4 separate regions of the Homo sapiens genome follow, and regions 1, 3 and 4 are each linked to region 2. Evidence: promoter capture Hi-C in 16 types of primary human blood cells and fetal thymus (Javierre and others, 2016). All regions are on one chromosome and are shown on one strand. The core of a region is centred on a gene start or on the middle of the fragment in contact, and the rest is flanking DNA. Distances in the headings are between cores, read along the strand shown. Region 1 holds the start of SNRPB2 (small nuclear ribonucleoprotein polypeptide B2). Region 2 holds the start of ANKEF1 (ankyrin repeat and EF-hand domain containing 1). Region 3 overlaps KIF16B (kinesin family member 16B). Region 4 has its middle 2.7 kb from the start of KAT14.

Region 1 (4,070 bases), core at 1,431-3,930, 6.7 Mb before region 2:
GCTATATGTAATTTTAAAAGTTATATGAAACCATTATATCTATGAGTAGAAACAGACTGTACACACTGTCAGTTCCTACCTATTTTTGTTTTTTAAAAGCCTTCAAATCCCTATAGGAAATGGGATAAACCATTATTTCAGGCACTAAGATGATGAGGTAAGAGGTTTTGAGGCAGTACAATTTTTAAGACAGTAGTAAATAAACACATTTTAGTAGTGAACAAGTATTCTAAAAAGCACTTACCTTCCTTTTTAATTTTGTCATTCATATTGTTGATATAAATTGTATGATTTGGTCTGATATCCATGTTTGTGTTAAATTCTTCAGGAGACAGTAAAAAATCTGTTATAAAAAGGAAGGAGTAAATTATACTGGACTGTGGCATAAGGACACAACACAAGAATTATTAACTTTTCATTTCTCTTTCAATCCCAGTTGTCAGAAAATGTCAGTTTGGCTGTAGCCTTTATTGTATCTCCAGCACCTACTAGCCCTCCTTTTCATACAGAAGAAGAACAGTTTCTCACATTCAAAACTTGGAGCACCAATACCTAGCCAGATTTTAGTAACACCATTTAATTCAACACATTTATTTTTACACTTACGTTTCACTTATGACACGTGACATTTTCTTTCCACCTCCTCAATGAAATAATTTTAAAATGTAGATTTGAAGAAAAATGACCAAAGTAGCAAATGTACATCCAGTAAAAATCATAAGGTTAGACATTAATGAAGTTTGCCAACTACTTAATGGGTGCACTTACAAAGTCCTTCCATACCTATTAATTTGTATACAGCATCACCAAGCTGTCTGGACTCCAAGGTTATCTCTAACCGACTTGAAAGAAAGGAGCTCAATGACAGCAGTGTGGCATGACGATTAAACTCAGATTCCAGTATCAGCCAGATGTGAATTCAAATCCTATTTATGCTTCTTACTAGCTGTTTGCCTGAGGGAAGTTCCTTAACCTCTCAGGTCCTCATCAGTAAAATAAGAATGGTAACAGAACCTACCCAATAGAACTCAGAAGACTAAATGAATTCTAGCACAGTTCTGCATCAGCGGTAAACACTTAAGAGTAGCTATTATTAACAGCTATTACCAGGTAAGGAACTTGCCTAAGGTCACACAGCTAATAAGCATCAGGCCTGGAAATTCAGCCCTTGCTTTCTCCTCTACACTTGTCTTCCTCATATACCACACTATTGCATTTTTTACATGGTTTTTACTTGCAAATTGTGAACTTGGATGATTTCCTTGTGTGCCCCACATATTCCTTTATCTCACAGTATTTACAGAGCATCCACTGTATGTGAACTGCATTGGATGATTGACAAGGGAAGAGCCTACAAGCAGGGGCTGCACTTGTGCAGGTAACAGGTAAAACGTAACGCTTCTCAAAGCCTTGCGACCCCCTAAATCGAAATCTGGAGAAGGGGCAGGGGTCGCAAAGGAGACGACGAAAGGGAAGTGACTGAGGCAGAGGTCAAAGTGAAGGTAGGGGGACAAAGGGGAGGCTCTTGCAGGGTTTCATGCGAGGTTTGATCGTGGGCTGCGTTGTTACAGGGACACCCTGAATTACCCGCCACCACCAAAAGGGAGCCGCTGGAAGACACCTGAAAGCGCAGTGAACTGTCCACGCCTCGCACGAGCAGACTGACATTAACTATCCTTTACTTCGTACGCGCAAGCCTCCCGCCTCTCCAGACACAAGCACCTTCGCCCAAGGCCCCCTAACGAAGTCCAAGGGAGCTGCCACGCGATGCCCGGCCCCAGAGTCAGTCTCCTCACCCCCAAGCCTGCCCCTCCGAGATCCAAACCCGGGCCAAACGCGTACCCACCCCAGCTTCGCGCTTCGTCCGCTCCCAGCTGCAACAGGGGAGAAAAGGGCCGAGGAGCCAGGAAAACCGAAACAGCGAGGTAGAAGGCGCACGAACCCACCTAAGGCCTACGCCGACTACTGTAAGAACCAAAAGCAGGAAACGGAGCCAGGCACCGGAAGCAACGTAGCCACGCTCCTCAATCGAGCGCCGACAAGTCTAGAAGCCGAGCACAGAGCCGATCGATGCTTCCGGGTCTCTGGCAGCCAGGGCTGGCAATCTCTCTGCGCGTGCGTCTGCCCTGCGGGCAGGAGAAGAGTCCGGAAATGGAAATGGGGAAAGAGAAGGGGGTTGTGAGGACCATGCTGCGAGGGAATAGTGAAGGGGAGTGAATCATTTCCCCTACCACGACCTTGCGAAGCTTTACCCGGCGCAACAGTGCCTTCCACCTTTACAAATCCTATGTAATTTTACAGGCGCTGCCCCTCATGCTATGGGGCAGTTAGTCCTGGTTTCGCCCTTCTTTGGGCTCTAGCTACCCCGGTTTAAAATCACCTTTAGGATAGCCAGTTCCTCCTGCCTCCGAGTCTCCTCTGATTCATGGGGCTCTGCAGGAACTGTCCTCCAACACTGTGCTGATGAACTTGAATCTCAGAGGCTACTCAGTTTGAGGGCCCAGGGCAGACAGAACTGGTGTCTGCCCAATTCTCATCTCTCACCAGATAAGGCAACCATGCTGACTAGAACCCAGTCATCTGTAAGATCATCTGCCTCAATTCACTCGAAAAAATAATTCCCTACCACCCTTCCCACTCTTTTCTTCCAACAAAAGGTCTAGATTTTTCTAGGGTATTCTAAGGAGTTAGTATTTATGCCAAGCTGAATGGGAGTTCCCAAAGTGCATGCATTCATTCATCCATCCATTCATCAGATGTCTGTAAAGCATCACCTGGAATATGAAATGGTTGTTAAGAGTCAACTGGAACCTAATCTTGTACCCTCTGCTTAACTAATCTCTCTGACCTTCACTTTTTTCATCTGTAAAATAGGGATCCTAATAGTACCTCCTTCTAGTTGTTGTAAGCATTAAATGAGCTAAAATAAATGTAAAGTGATTGGCACATTGTCAGACACAATAAATGCTCAAAAATGTTATTTCTGAATTCTGGCTATAACTTGGTTCTACTGGTGAGGCAGGTAGCTGTCAAATAAGTTGGTTTTATCAGCTGGGAATTTTTATTTTTTAAAAACACCCAAAGTTGCAACAACTTGAAAATAATATAAGCTTTTTAAGGGTGGGGTTTTTGTCTGCTCTGTTCACTCAAGTACCCTTAGTAATGGGAAAAGTGACTGATAATTAATATGCATTGGATAATTCAATGAATGACATGGAAAACTAGGCAACAGTAAAACAAATATGCTTTGAACATGCACCTGAGTGTAGAGAATGTTAAGGGATCACAGAAAAGCATCGTTTTATTATATAGATCTAAAACTAGAAGAAATGGCTGAGTGTAGTAGCTCACACCTGTAATCCTAGCATTTGGGGAGGCTGAGACAGGAGGACTGGTTGAGTCCAGGAGTTCAAAATCATCCTGGGCAACATAGTGAGATCTCATCTCTAAAATAAATAAACCAATGAGAAGAAATGTCCTATCTCAGTCAAAGAATTATATCTTTAACAAATTAAAAGAGAATATAAACTTAATATAAACAATTTCTAAATAACAAAGGACAAGCTGTTTTGCATATTACTATGAGCATCTCAGCAATTAGTTCTGTTTGATAATAATGAGGATGGCTACACTACTGAGAATAAACTATACTCTGTATTGTATAAGGGGATCTAGCCAAGAGTTGATAACTGTTAAAAGAGAATAAGATGTGATTATACAAAAACACTCCAACCTGGGAAGAAAATACCACAAGAAACACAGAGGCCTGAAGACAGACTGCATGTTGTGTTCTATTAACAATTAAATTACAGCTATTGTACATTACACTGTGAGAAGGAAATCATCCATTGCCAACTCAGCCGCAATGGTCTGCATGCACTTTTCCAGGTTCTTCTAAAAAGAGCCAGTGCATTTTCCTGTCCTTGGGCAGTCACTCTGGGCATTCCAATAACCCGTTAATGATTCTCAGTGGTTTCCTGAACGATTTGAGAAGCCAGTTATTGAGAACAGTACAGGAAGGGAATGATAAGGATCGAATAGCTTTTCTGGTTTTGTGAGAAACCTTGCAT
Region 2 (4,731 bases), core at 515-3,014:
CCTGCCTCAGCCTCCCGAGTAGCTGGGATTACAGGTGCCCACCACCACACCTGGCTAATTTTTGTATTTTTAGTAAAGACAGGGTTTCACCATGTTGGCCAGGCTGATCTTGAACTCTTGACCTCAGGTGATCCACCCGCCTCAGCCTCCCAAAGTGTTGGGACTACAGGCGTGAGCCACCGGGCCAGGCCTCCTTTGCCTTTTAATCTGTTTATAACATGCGGTGGACTAGGGAACCAACTGAGGCTGCCTCAGAGTCATCCACTTGGACTTTGCTGCACGGCTTGGTGACACTCACCTTAGCTGCTATTTATGGCTTGTTTTATTATTATCGGCCATATTCCGATTAGGTGCGGTGTCATCATACTGCATATGTATATGTGTCATCTATGGAATAGGGCAAGATGCTCCTACATAGGTAATGATTAGACTGAATCAATGCCACTTGATTTGTGAAAATAAGGATTTCCCAATCAGGGACTTCAATGTTGCCTCTGTTAGCACCCATCTCTAACGGAGAATTAATTAGCAGCTACAGTGATGAATTCAGTAGGTCCATGGGTCGGTTTCCTGTGGACTGCCTCCCTCCCAGCTAAAGCCCTGAAGTGCTGGGGAGAGGGCAGCACCCTGTATAGTGTCCTTCACAATCAACTGCTAAGACTGACCAAGAGCTCACCCCACTGCAGGAAATCACACAAGTGTAGCCCTTGGGTCCTGGGTTCCTTGTAAATTGAGCAGCATATAGGATCCTCCACATACAAGCACACCTGTACTTTTCCCCAGCATGACCCTGGGCCACCTTAGTCACATCTAACCATCTACCAAGGTAGTGGAATAGAGCAGAATGTCTTGACTTGAGGTCCATGTTCGGGGTCTGAATACTCGGAAATTACATGAAAATCTGTGGGAATCTGTGTGTGTTCAGGTCATTTAACTCTCAAAGGGGGGCTGTGCGACAAGGAAGGATCATTAGAAAGAGGAATGGAGGAAGACAAGCTTGGTACAGTGGAATGTAGGGTTTGAGGTGGGGAAATCCGTTGTGATCCTCCCTTCCCTGTATCATTATTTACACAAACTAGTTGGATATAAATATGGATATGCTACCTACCTAGTTTTTACCTCAGTTTCTGCATCTGTGAACTGGCAATAGCAATGGTGCCCACTTCATGGGACTGTGTGAAAAGGAAATGAGATATGATCCTTGTAAAACATTTAGCAAAGTCCTTCAATATAGGCTCCTTATGAATACACCAAACTTTTGCGGGTTTCAGCTCACCCACAAGTGTAAGCGATAGTTTACATGTTGGGGGTTCTCTACTGTGCTTTCCACTTTTTAGTCTCCAGAAAAATCTGGAGAAGAGAGGAGTGGAGGGGGTAGAGATGTAACGTCAAAGGAAAAGCCATGTGTCATGCTCACCTCTTAGTCTTCCGGGCGATCAGAAGCCAGGGATCTCTGGGCACCTATGTGCCTGGGCCTGCTGGGGCGACCGGGGAGGCCCCTGCTCTCGTCCTCTGACGCTCAGCGCTGGCCCAGCCGCGACCTTGGGCTCCCGGAGCCCGGCGGAGGCGCCCAGGCGTGAATGATGTCCCTTGGGTAGGGCTGGTGAGCTGGCGCGCGGGACAGCAGGGCTGGGTGTATGTGTCCATGGGCCCCGGGTCCCCGGAAGGCGAGCGCGCGGGCAGGTGAGCGCAGGGGGCGGGGTGGAAGCCGGAGGGACCGGGCTGATTGTGAGCTTCCGCCACGCAGGGCGCGGCTGCCGGGGCAACCGCAGCGTGCGCGGTGGGGCGGTGCTCGCCTCCGCCTCCGCCTCCGCCTCCGCCTCCGCCTCCGCCTCCGCCTCCGCCTCCGCCCCCGCCCCCGCCTCCGCCTCCGCCCCTCGCGCCTGGCTTCGACGCCAGGTGGCCGGCCTGGGCGGGATGGGGTAGCTGCGCTGGGTGTTCCAGGGCGGAGCGCAGAATGCTGCTGTCTTGAGGATTCCGCCCTTCTCTCATTCTCTTCTCCCACCTCCTGCCCTGGGTCAGAACGTAATTTAGTTATAAAATTAAAGCTGCATATGGCAATTAAAAAATGAAGTAAAATATACAATAAATATTTAGTTTACAAAGTACAATTAAATGAAAAATACAATAAATTACACAATAAAGCGAAAGTGAACCTACTCTCAACTGCCACAGATTCTTGCAAATCTTCCCAGAAATTTTCTTTCCATACTCTAGGATGCATATATGCTTAAAAAATATTTATACACAAATGGAAGCAAATATGGAGATCACTTTATTTCAGGGCCTACAAATGCACCATAACACCCCTCTCTCTCCCTCCACACATGCTTTTTGGCGGAAAATTCTGAAAGCTTTGGTTTGATTATGTGAATGTAAAACATATATATGTGTGTCTATATATATATGCTTTTTAATGCAGTATGTAATTGCTTCCAATTAAAAACAGTAATTCCTTACACCAGCCTACCCTATTCTACTCAGAGACTGTTTAAAAATGTTAAGAGCGAAGACATGGAATCAACCTAAGTGCTCATCAATGATAGACTGGCTAAAGATAATGCGGTACATATACACCATGGAATACTATGCAACCATATAAAGGAACAAAATTATGTCTTTTGCAGGAATATGGAGCTGGAGGCAATTATCCTTGGCAAGCTAACGCAGAAACAGAAAACCCAATACTGCATGTTCTCACTTATGAGTGAGAGCTAAGTGATGAGAACACATGGACACATAGAGGGGAACAGCACACACTGGGGCCTATTGGAGGGTAGAAGGTGGAGAGTGGGAGGAGGGAGAGGATCAAGAGAAATAACTAATGGGTACTAATCTTAATACCTGGGTGAGAAAATAATTTGTGCAACAAAACCACATGACACAAGTTTACCTATATAACAAATCTGCACATGTACCCCTGAACTTAAACGTCAAATAAAAAATAATAAAAATGTTATTAAGGACTATTTCATGCACACCAAAATATACTGTATGATATATGGAAAGTACATACCATACCATACCATAGCTAAAGAAATACCATAGCTAAAGAAAAAGAAAGCTAGGAAAAATAAAGGAAAAAGGAAAAGGAAAAAAAAGTCTGCCTCTACTGCTGTACTTATATGTATTTCTTCCCAACACTGCATCCTCCTCTTCCTGTTCCCAGAGATAATACCTGTTCTGAATTTTACATTTATCATCCCAGCCTCTTAAAAATGCATTGCTACATTGAATGCCTCCCTAAATAATGCATGTTTAATATTGCATATTTTGAGAATTTATAAAAATGTGGTAGAATGTTGTGTATTGTTTTGATGACTTTTTTCCTTTCAACGTCTTGTTTTTGAAATGTATCTTTGTTGGTATGTTTAATTGGAGTTCCTTTATCTAAACAGCTGTAGGCTATTCCATTATATTACCATTCCACACCCCTTTCAAATCAATTCCACTATTGATAGACATTTGGGATGTTTCCAGAATTTGCTACTAAAAGCAATACTACTAAGATCATGTTTATAAATGTCTTTGGACGCACACGTTCAAGAGTTTCACTAGAGTATATGTCTAGGAGTTAAATTTCTGGGTCATAGGTTATTTATAACATCAAGATAAAGACAACTTGTTTTCCCGACATATACAGCAATTTAGACTCCCATCAGCAGTGTGTATCTTAGCCAAAACTTGGTTTTGTCACACAAAAAACTTTCTGCCAATCTTGGTATCAATGCTCTTTTATAATTTACTTTACGTGACCTGATTACTAATTATTAATCTGTAAGTTTGATTCCTTAGAGATATTTGAGTGTAAATTTATTGTCAAACTGTGTCCAAAATTGGTGGGTTCTTGGTCTCACTGACTTCAAGAATGAAGCCAGGGACCCTCGCGGTGAGTGTTACAGCTCTTAATGTGGCGCATCTGGAGTTTGTTCCTTCTGATGTTCGGATGTGTTCGGAGTTTCTTCCTTCTGGTGGGTTCGTGGTCTCGCTGGCTCAGGAGTGAAGCTGCAGACCTTCACGGTGAGTGTTACAGCTCTTAAGGCGGCGCTTCTGGAGTTGTTGGTTCCTCCTGGTGGGCTCGTGGTCTCGCTGGCTTCAGGAGTGAAGCTGCAGACCTTCGCAGTGAGTGTTACAGCTCATAAAAGCAGTGTGGACCCCAAGAGTGAGCAGCAGCAAGATTTATTGCAAACAGTGAAAGAACAAACCTTCCACAGTGTGGAAGGGAACCCAAGCGGGTTGCCACTGCTGGCTCAGGCAGCCTGCTTTTATGCTCTTATCTGGCCCCACCCACATCCTGCTGATTGGTAGAGCCGAGTCCTCTGTTTTGACAGGGCGCTGATTGGTGCGTTTACAATCCCTGAGCTACACCCAAAGGTTCTCCATGTCCCCACCAGATTAGCTGGCTACAGAGTGTGGACACAAAGGTTCTCCAAAGCCCCACCAGAGTAGCTAGATACAGAGTGTGGCTTGGTGCGTTCACAAACACTAAGCTAGACACAGGGTGCTGATTGGTGTGTTTACAAACCTTGAGCTAGATACGGAGTGCCGATTGGTGTATTTACAATCCCTGAGCTAGACATAAAGGTTCTCCACGTCCCCACCAGACTCAGGAGCCCAGCTGGCTTCCCCCAGTGAATCCCGCACGAGAGCTGCAGGTGGAGCTGCCTGCCAGTCCCGCGCCGTGCGCCCGCACTCCTCAGCTCTTGGGTGGTCGATGGGACTGGGCGCCGT
Region 3 (4,130 bases), core at 1-2,500, 6.5 Mb before region 2:
TTGGTGTGCTGCACCCATTAACTCGTCATTTAACATTAGGTATATCTCCTAATGCTATCCCTCCCCTCTCCCCCCACCTCACAACAGGCCCCGGTGTGTGATGTTCCCCTTCCTGTGTCCAAGTGTTCTCATTGTTCAATTCCCACCTATGAGTGAGAACATGCGGTGTTTGGTTTTTTGTCCTTGCGATGCACACGTATGTTTATTGCGGCACTATTCACAATAGCAAAGACTTGGAACCAAGCCAAATGTCCAACAGTGATAGACTGGATTAAGAAAATGTGGCACATATACACCATGGAATACTATGCAGCCATAAAAAAGGTTGAGTTCCTGTCCTTTGTAGGGACATGGGTGAAGCTGGAAACCATCATTCTCAGCAAATTACCGCAAGGACTCCTGTAATCTTTTGAAACTTTTTTACTCCATGTTTGAGGCATGGCCTGGTCTGCATCCCTGGATCCCAGCCCTTACCTGGACATGACAAACCCAGGCTCAGCAGAAGACAGATTTTTTTGTTTGTCTCTTTTTGTTTTGAAGAAGAGAAAAAGAAAACAGGGAGTTTGGGGTTGGTGAAAGAAGGCTGGAGGAGCAAGGGAGGGAAGGGGCTGCTGGCTGGAAAGAGAAAGGAGGGGAGAGTTGCTGCTGTTGCTGACACCTTGAGTTGGGAGCGCATGGAAGTTTTTTCTTTCTTTTAGGTGAACTTTATAAGTAATATGATGCAAATGTCTGGTATTTTTCCTTATACAATATTTTAAAATATCTTTGTGTGCAAAATACACTTATACAAGGTGTATTAGTAGTTTAAAAGGTGCTCTTGAGTGACTTGGGTCACATAATTTGGTTTTAAACTTCTGTTGCTTTATTTTAAACATGGAAACTGTGTGAGCATGAGAGTGGAGTGGGAGAGAGTGGAGTGGCAGAGATCGAGTGTGTATGTGTTTCTTTTTGCCTGTCAGAGAGAGAGAAGTTATTTAGAAATGTCCAGTTGTGTGATATATAGCAGTTTGGTCTAAAGTTGATTGATGTGATACTTCCTTGTTTCTTGACTGTTTTTCTAAGTTATTTTGATAGCTTTGGCTGTTTTTGCAGATTCTGGAATTGGGATGCCATCTTACTGAAGCTTGTTTTGTGAAAGAGAATATGTTAATTATACTTAGACCTGTAGCCTGGGAAAAGAAGTAATAGTGTTTTAGCTCCTTCCTGAGGACTGAGAGATTTATTTTGGTGGCTTTGACTGCCTTTCCTCACGTTCAGGTTATAAAAAGACAGGGGAAAAAATCCTTCCAGGGAGGTTGGTCAGCACTGGCTTGGACTTAGCCCGCACATTCATCCAAGCACAAAGGAGGTAACCACCAGTGGGGCCAGGAAGCTTGCCTTCGGTCACTCCTATTATCCCTGGGCGGAGCATTTGTGTTTTTTGCTCTGTCCATTTCCAAATGTATTCATTTTTCATTGTTGCTGTCCATGAGATAGGAAATAGCTGTTTCTGTGATCAGTCATTTATTTATAGACACTTTAAGTACATTTCAGTGGGATATGTAGAATTTAAAGTAAATTGAGAAAGTTAATGCTTTCAATGTAATTGTTGATCAGTAATTTGGTCACTCATTACTATTTCTGGCCACTCATTCACTTGCTAGGAATTCTGCTAAATCCTGCGCTGTACTATCTAATTCACTTCTTCACAACAGTTCTACAGGGGTGAACATCATTAGATCCGTCTTATAGATGGGAAACTGAGTCTCAAAGAAGGATCAGGTTCTGTCTCATATGCCCGTCTTCAGAGAAGGCTTTATTACCTCACTCTGGTTTTCTGGCTTGCTAACATTCCCCATTTTATGAATGTATACGTGTGTGTATGTGTGAATATATTTTTGTTTGCTTATTATCTCTTAAACTCTCTGAGAGCCAGTCACCGTGTAGATCTTGTTCATGGCTGTTTCCCCGGGGCCTGGAACTGTGCCGGGAAGACCTGAGCACTCAGAAAGTATTTGTTACATTTATAAGTATCTCCACTCACCCTCCACACATGCCTCTTACTTTCTGTGGTTGCTCGTGAGGGATTGGGATCCGTAGTCACGGCGTTTGTTGCATGTCTCACATTGTTCTCCGTGAGGAGGAAAAGAGCATCTTGACAATCCTCCTATTGGGTATTAGGAAGACGTGAGGGGTGACGGAGGGCTGAGCAAGAGCCTGGGTAAACAAGGACAGCTTCAGCTCTTTCCCGTGTATTAAGTTTACTTAATATTACACTCCCAATGAAGATTAAGATTACTTCATATTACACACCAATGCACATTATGTTTATCCCTTAAGGTTAGAGAGTTGGAGGTACAGCACTATGGTACAACACTTTACTGTGTTTAAATGATACACAGTTTATAGGGCAGAATACTCTTGTTTCTTTCTTCAGAAAAGATATTTTAAAAAATTTTTATTTTGAAATAATTGTAGATTTATAGTAAAGTTGCAAAATAGTAGAGAGTTCCCATATATAAACTCTTCACCGAACTTCCCGTAATATTATGCCTTATGTAACCACAGCACAATGATCAAAACGAAGAAATTAACTAAATTTTATCTAGATTTCACCAGTTTTCCCACTAATGTCTTCCTTCTGGTTCAGCATCCAATCCGGGATCCCACATTGCATCTAAATGTAGCATGTCTCCTGAGTCTTCTCTGGTACGTGACAGTTTGTAAGTCTTTCCTTGTTTTTCATAACCTTAATTTTTGAAGAGTACTGGTCAGTTATTTTTTAGAATGGTTCTCAGTGTGGCTTTCTCTGATGTTTTATCACAAATACGTTGAAGTTAAGCAATTTTTGACAATAATACCACAAAAGTGATTTTGTGTCCTTCATATGTTACTGGGGTATGTGATGTCAATATGTCTTACTACTGGTGATGTTGACCTTGATTACGTGGTTAAGGTGGTATCTGCAGGGTTTCTCCACTGTAATGTTTTATTTTTTTTTTCCTGTTTGTAATTAATAAATATCTTGGGGGAGATACTTAAAATTTTTGACTTCAGTTTGCAAAAGAATTTTCCCCTCATGGCAACACACCTCAGATTTTCTAATAAAAGTTATTGTGAATATAAGAACTATTTAAAACTTTTTTTTTCCCACTGACTTAGTGAGAAAGGATTTGTCATATTATTTGAAATGAAGGGCGCTTATGTTTTGGAAGGCTGATGATGATTGTATAGAACTATGTGCTTCAAACAAGATCCACAGTAAGACATTCATCTGCTCAATGCATGCTGATATTTTCTACTCTCTACTACTTTTTTTTGAGACAGAGTCTTGCTCTGTGGCCCAGGCTGGAGTGCAGCAGCTCCATCTCTGCCCACTGTAACCTCCACCTCCCGGGTTCAAGCAATTCTTATGCCTCAGCCTCTTGAGTAGCTGGCATTACAGATACCCGCCACCACGCCCAGCTAATTTTTTTTTGCAGTTTTAGTAGAGACGGGGTTTCACCATGTTGGCTAGGCTGGTCTTGAACTCCTGACCTCAGGTGACCCACCCACCTCAGCCTCCCAAAGCGCAGGGATTACAGGCATGAGCCACTGCGCCCGGCCTCTCTATTATATTTTTTTAAAAAAAGATGATTGTTACTCACTAAAATGATTTTATGATTCATAGTTTGAAAAAAACACTGATGAAGTGAATTTATTATCCAGAGAAGAAGTTGGTAAAATCTGATTTTGTTACTCGAGACAACACTGAGACATCATGCCGTCAGAGTGACTGCCAATTCCGTTTCCTCTTGTTAGCTGGTTAGAGCTTTTTTTCTTTTTTTTTGAGATAATATCTCACTTTGTCACCCAGGCTTGAGTGCAGTGGCACGAAAATGGCTCACTGCAGCGTTGACCTCCCAGGCCCAAGCGATCCTCCCACCTCAGCCTCAGCCCCCCAAGTAGCTGAGTGATTTTTGTATTTCTTTTAGACAAGGGGTTTCACCATGTTGCCTAGGTTGGTCTTGAACTCCTGAGCTCAGGTGATCCGCCTGCCTTGGCCTCCCAAAGTGTTGGAATTACAGGCTTGAGCCATTGCTCAGATCAAGATTTTAAACTTTTAAGAGTGTAGGATTCTGAACCCTCCATGGGATGCCTGCTCTCAGGAA
Region 4 (4,403 bases), core at 1-2,500, 8.1 Mb before region 2:
TGGTTTCACCTTGACGCTGTGGGGCGACTGGTCAGGCTCGGATTATTATTATTATTATTATTATAATTTTGATACAGAGTCTCTGTCTATCGCCCAGGCTGGAGTGCAGTGGCGCGATCTCGGCTCACTGCAACCTTACCGGATTCAAGCGATTCTCCTGCCTCAGCCTCCCGAGAGGATTACAGGCGTGAGCCACCGCGCCTGGCCCCATGTAATCTTTGTGATCACTTTTACACCCAAGTTTCCGCGCCAGTAATACAAGGGAAATAAATGATATAAAGAAGTCTTGCGTTGGGAATAGTTAAGCAATTGTGCAAGACGCATTTTCACTTCTTCCTCGGGTAAAAAAGGCAAGGCCTCCCAGAAACTTTTAAGTATCTGATAGAGCAACCAGTGAAAACGTGTTCATCATTCAATCATTCTTTCCCACTAGAATTCACAGAGAACGAGCTTCTTCCGGTGGACACGGCTATAGGCAGTATTGATTAAGCCTCACCAGGGAGTTTTACAACATTCATTACTGTTCATAGTGCTTTGCTATTCCAGTCTCTTATGTGAGCGTAAATGGCATAAGGGGACTATTGCTCTTAAAGGTATCTTTAAAGATACCTTTTCCAAATGTCATTTTGTCCACAGCATTTTTTGCAGCCTAGAGAGAATGTACCACTGAATTGGAAAATGGAGTTCTTGCTGTAATGAACTTTGAGAAGAAATTCAGTTCAGGGTGTATTTGCATATTTCTCTTTAAAAATTATATTAGACTTCTTTTTATTCGTGGTATATCCTAGATATTTTCCCCTGTAAATCAGTGAGCCTTCAACAGAGCTGTATGTCCTTAGAGTGTACATCAGGGAATTAGATCAATCGCCTTTCATTTTATTGTGACTAATTTTTCAACTTGTTTTCTTGAAATGTACTCTTTTCTTTATTTTCAGGATACTAGAAGCAAAAAAAAAAGTATTCTACTTTTAAGAAATCATTTATTATTAACTGTGTCAAATAAAAAAGTGGGTTGGGGGACTGAGGGAGGTCTTGCAAAAAAAAAAAAGTATGTTTATCTGTTTAAATATTTATAAGCCTAAGCAGTATATTTTCCGTGATTATTGTCGCATAAATTACTGATTTGTGAGAGTGACTGCATATCATCAAACTGAGAAGCAACTATTTTTTTCTTTTTCTTTTCTTTTCTTCTTTTTAATTGAGACAGGGTCTCACTCCGTCGCCCAGGCTGGAGTGCTGTGGGGTGATCTCACTGCAACCTTTGCCTCCCAGATTCAAGCGATTCTTGTATCTCAGCCTCTGGAGTAGTTGGGGTTACAGGCCTGAGCCACCAGGCTGCACTAATTTTTGTATTTTTAGTAGAGATGGGGTTTCACCATGTTGGCTAGGCTGATCTAGAACTCTAGTACTGGGTGCTGGTACTGGGTGTTTGTGAAAATTGGTCCAGTGGCACACCAAGGCTGTGTGGTCACACATACATGCATGATACACTTCTATACAAAATCTTACATAACTATACGAACAGAAAAAAAATGGCTCTTTTTTGTTTCTTTTATTGTCTTTATTTCCTTTTGATTTTTTATTGTGTGTTTTTTTCTTTTTTTTCCCATTGGTTCATAGCCGATGGCTTTACATTTTATCATCACTTCTTGTATCAAATAGCTTTTTGGCTGGGAACGGTGGTTCATGCCTGTATTCCAGGCACTTTGGGAGGCCAAGGCAGGTGGATCACTTGAGGTCAGGAGTTCGAGAACAGCCTGGCCAATATGGTGAAACCCCGTCTCTACTGAAAATACAAAAATTCGCCAAATGTGGCAGCGCATGCCTGTAATCCCAGCTACTTGGGAGGCTGAGGCAGGAGAATTGCTTGAACCCGAGAGGCAGAGGTTGCAGTGAGCCACTGCACTCCAGCCTCGGTGACAGAGTGAGACTTCAACTCAAAAAAAAAAAAAAAAAAGTTTTTTCTCCATGGTAACTATCAAAAATTAAAGAGATGATCATTTAAAAAGATTTTGATCAGCCAGGCGTGGTGGCTCACACCTTTAATCCTAGCACTTTGGGAGGCCAAGGAGGGTGGATCACTTGAGGTCAGGGATTCGAGACCAGCCTGGCCAACATGATGAAACCCCGTCTCTACTAAAAATACAAAAATTAGCCAGGTGTGGTGGTGGGTGCCTGTAATCCCAGCTACTTGGGAGACTGAGGCAAGAGAATCACTTGAGCCCGGGAGGTGGAGGTTGCAGTGAGCCGAGATCAAACCACTGCACTCCAGCCTGGGTGACAGAGTGAGACTCCATCTCAAAAAAAAAAAAAAAAAAAAAAAATCTTGATCAAGAACTATGTGCAGGAGCAATGATCAGGAACTATTTTTAACACAAAACTTGATATTTAAAAGAGACTCCAAGAAGAATGTTATCAGGAAATTTTACCCAAAGTTGATATTTAAATCTACCCCAAGATTTGCTTTTATTTTTCTTCTCATAATTATATGTCATTTATTTTTTTGTTTTTCTTTTTCTTTTTTATAAGAGTACCATATAAAGGAAATGTAAATAATTATTATCCATGAAGCTCCTTTTAGAATTATCCAAGCTCACGCAAGTTGATCCCAGTGAGTTGTACAGATATCCTTATTTTTTATGTTTACCAAGGTGGGACGAAGCTTAGGAAGCATGGCTGATTTAATACAATTTGCTTGTAAGGCCAGAACATCTGAACCTTGTGTATCTGGCTATATTCTAGTGTCTCGGCATCCTAAGATCACATCAGTTCCTGCCCCTCTCAGCTTTGGATTGACTTAGGTGTGCCCAGAATGGCCACTGCTTTCCTGGAGAGGACAGTGGGTGCCTTGCCCTGCCATTGGCTGGCCTTCAGAGTGAACTTACCTCCAAAGACAAAAATAGGAAGCTGACCACCTTAAAAACCGCTCAGTGGCTCCCCATGCCTACAGGATAAAGTCCCATACTCTTTAGAACAGCATACTACCCTGTCCTTCCCTTCAGAATCCTCTAAGCAAGAGGCAGCATCAAAAAAGAAGTACAGTTGGAAGTCAGGGCTTGGAGAAGAATCAACAAATGAAAACTAAGGGGAGGGAATGCAGTCATTTTCCTGTGTTTGAACAACATGGTCACACAATCTTTGTTCCACCTTCACTCACACAAGGGTGGGGACTTGAAAAAAATGCCTTCCTCACTGAGTGTGTAATTTGGCTTATGTTATTTGGGCTTGAATCATGGCCAGGTCCTGGCAGCTATCCTGGGAGAGCTGGGTTTCGGGTCACTTCTGTCTTAAAGAATAGTAAATCACTAGTACCCTAGCAGGAGGTATCAGTAGGAGGCACGGGTTTAAACTGGGCTTGATGGTGGGCATGAATGCAATAGGTCAAGGCAGAGGCTTCAGGCAATGATCAGAAGCTTGTCATCATTGGGGCTGAGAGAGAAGGAGGAGGTGGGAAGGAGGAGGTTTGTTTGGGAAGAAGGTGGAGGGTGTCAGCTGAACTGGCACCAGTGACTGATAAATTTATCAGTCTCAGCACTAAATGATTACAGAAACATCACACCACATGGCACCGCATAAAGCACCATTATGACTATTTTAAATGCAAGCAAGAAGGCTTGCCTTGTGTATGGCCCTGTAGTGGGCTCTATAGGCAGACAAGGCCACGAAATCCCACCTTCTTCAGGCTGAGGCTCTGAAGTCAGCACATAAGGAAAAAGTCAAAAACAGTTAAAACTACCCTTGAAAACATTTTAGGAAGGTGACATGTTGAAGAAAATAGATATTTTCTCAGGAACTCCAAAACAGCCAGTTTTTCTTCTGGTACTGGAATTAATCACCATGAATTCAATGCAGTATCTATATAAGTAATCTGAAATTCTGCACAGGTTTGTCTCTTCTCTCCCATTTAGTAACTGATTCAATCATTTGTTTCTATCAGTGTGGACTGGTGGGTATTTATTTTATACTTTGGGTTATAATCCAATATTACTTTATTTTGTTGCTCAGATGGCTCCCGCTTTGGCCGTTGGGAGATCTTTCAGCTCCTCTGCTTCTCTGACGGACCCTCATCAATGTGTGTTTTTCTTGTTTAGCACTTGTCTATTTTCTGACACTGCACAATATTCTGAGCTAATCTTGTATATTTCCTGCCCAAGTCTCAGAATCTGCCATTTCTCCAAGAATCCAAGGTTCTTTTTATTGTAGAATAATATTGGAATCCAAGATATAGGTCCTGGCATGCTTATTGCTACTGGGGCTTTGTTTCTTTTGGGCCCTCTCAGCTGACAAAGCACATAAATATATGTGTGTATACTTATCTGTGTATGTTACATATCTGCAAATATTTCTATATGTAATCACCTGAATCTATATTGACTAAAATGTGAGATATTGCTGATGTCTGC

The links. Contacts are between HindIII fragments. The CHiCAGO score rates a contact against its expected background, and 5 or more counts as called.
Region 1: a fragment that was not itself captured here is called in contact with the fragment with the promoter of ANKEF1 in region 2 in 7 of 17 cell types (total CD4 T cells, naive CD8 T cells, total CD8 T cells and 4 more); the score reaches 20.9 in total CD4 T cells.
Region 3: a fragment that was not itself captured here is called in contact with the fragment with the promoter of ANKEF1 in region 2 in 1 of 17 cell types (naive CD8 T cells); the score reaches 5.2 in naive CD8 T cells.
Region 4: a fragment that was not itself captured here is called in contact with the fragment with the promoter of ANKEF1 in region 2 in 1 of 17 cell types (total CD4 T cells); the score reaches 6.3 in total CD4 T cells.

What each region holds. Positions count from the first base shown.
Region 1 is chr20:16,727,941-16,732,010 of GRCh38, reverse strand. It overlaps SNRPB2 (small nuclear ribonucleoprotein polypeptide B2), which reads right to left and starts at 1,985. Exons shown (of 7, transcript NM_003092.5): 1 at 1,847-1,985; 2 at 245-343. The coding sequence starts at 308. RefSeq lists a silencer at 1,528-1,577 and enhancers at 1,728-1,847, 1,898-1,947, 2,006-2,874. The HindIII fragment of the contact is 864 bases long and covers 2,249-3,112 here.
Region 2 is chr20:10,032,020-10,036,750 of GRCh38, reverse strand. ANKEF1 (ankyrin repeat and EF-hand domain containing 1) reads right to left here and starts at 1,764. Exons shown (of 11, transcript NM_022096.6): 1 at 1,418-1,764; 2 at 1,109-1,172. All of the region lies in intron 3 of SNAP25-AS1 (SNAP25 antisense RNA 1), which reads left to right. RefSeq lists a silencer at 1,424-1,973. The HindIII fragment of the contact is 1,358 bases long and covers 999-2,356 here.
Region 3 is chr20:16,560,463-16,564,592 of GRCh38, reverse strand. The region is part of intron 1 of KIF16B (kinesin family member 16B); the gene reads left to right. Among named protein-coding and RNA genes, the nearest start is that of KIF16B, 11 kb to the left of the region's middle. The HindIII fragment of the contact is 249 bases long and covers 1,126-1,374 here.
Region 4 is chr20:18,132,956-18,137,358 of GRCh38, reverse strand. It overlaps a transcript of KAT14 not described here. Among named protein-coding and RNA genes, the nearest start is that of KAT14, 2.7 kb to the left of the region's middle. The HindIII fragment of the contact is 2,828 bases long and covers 1-2,664 here.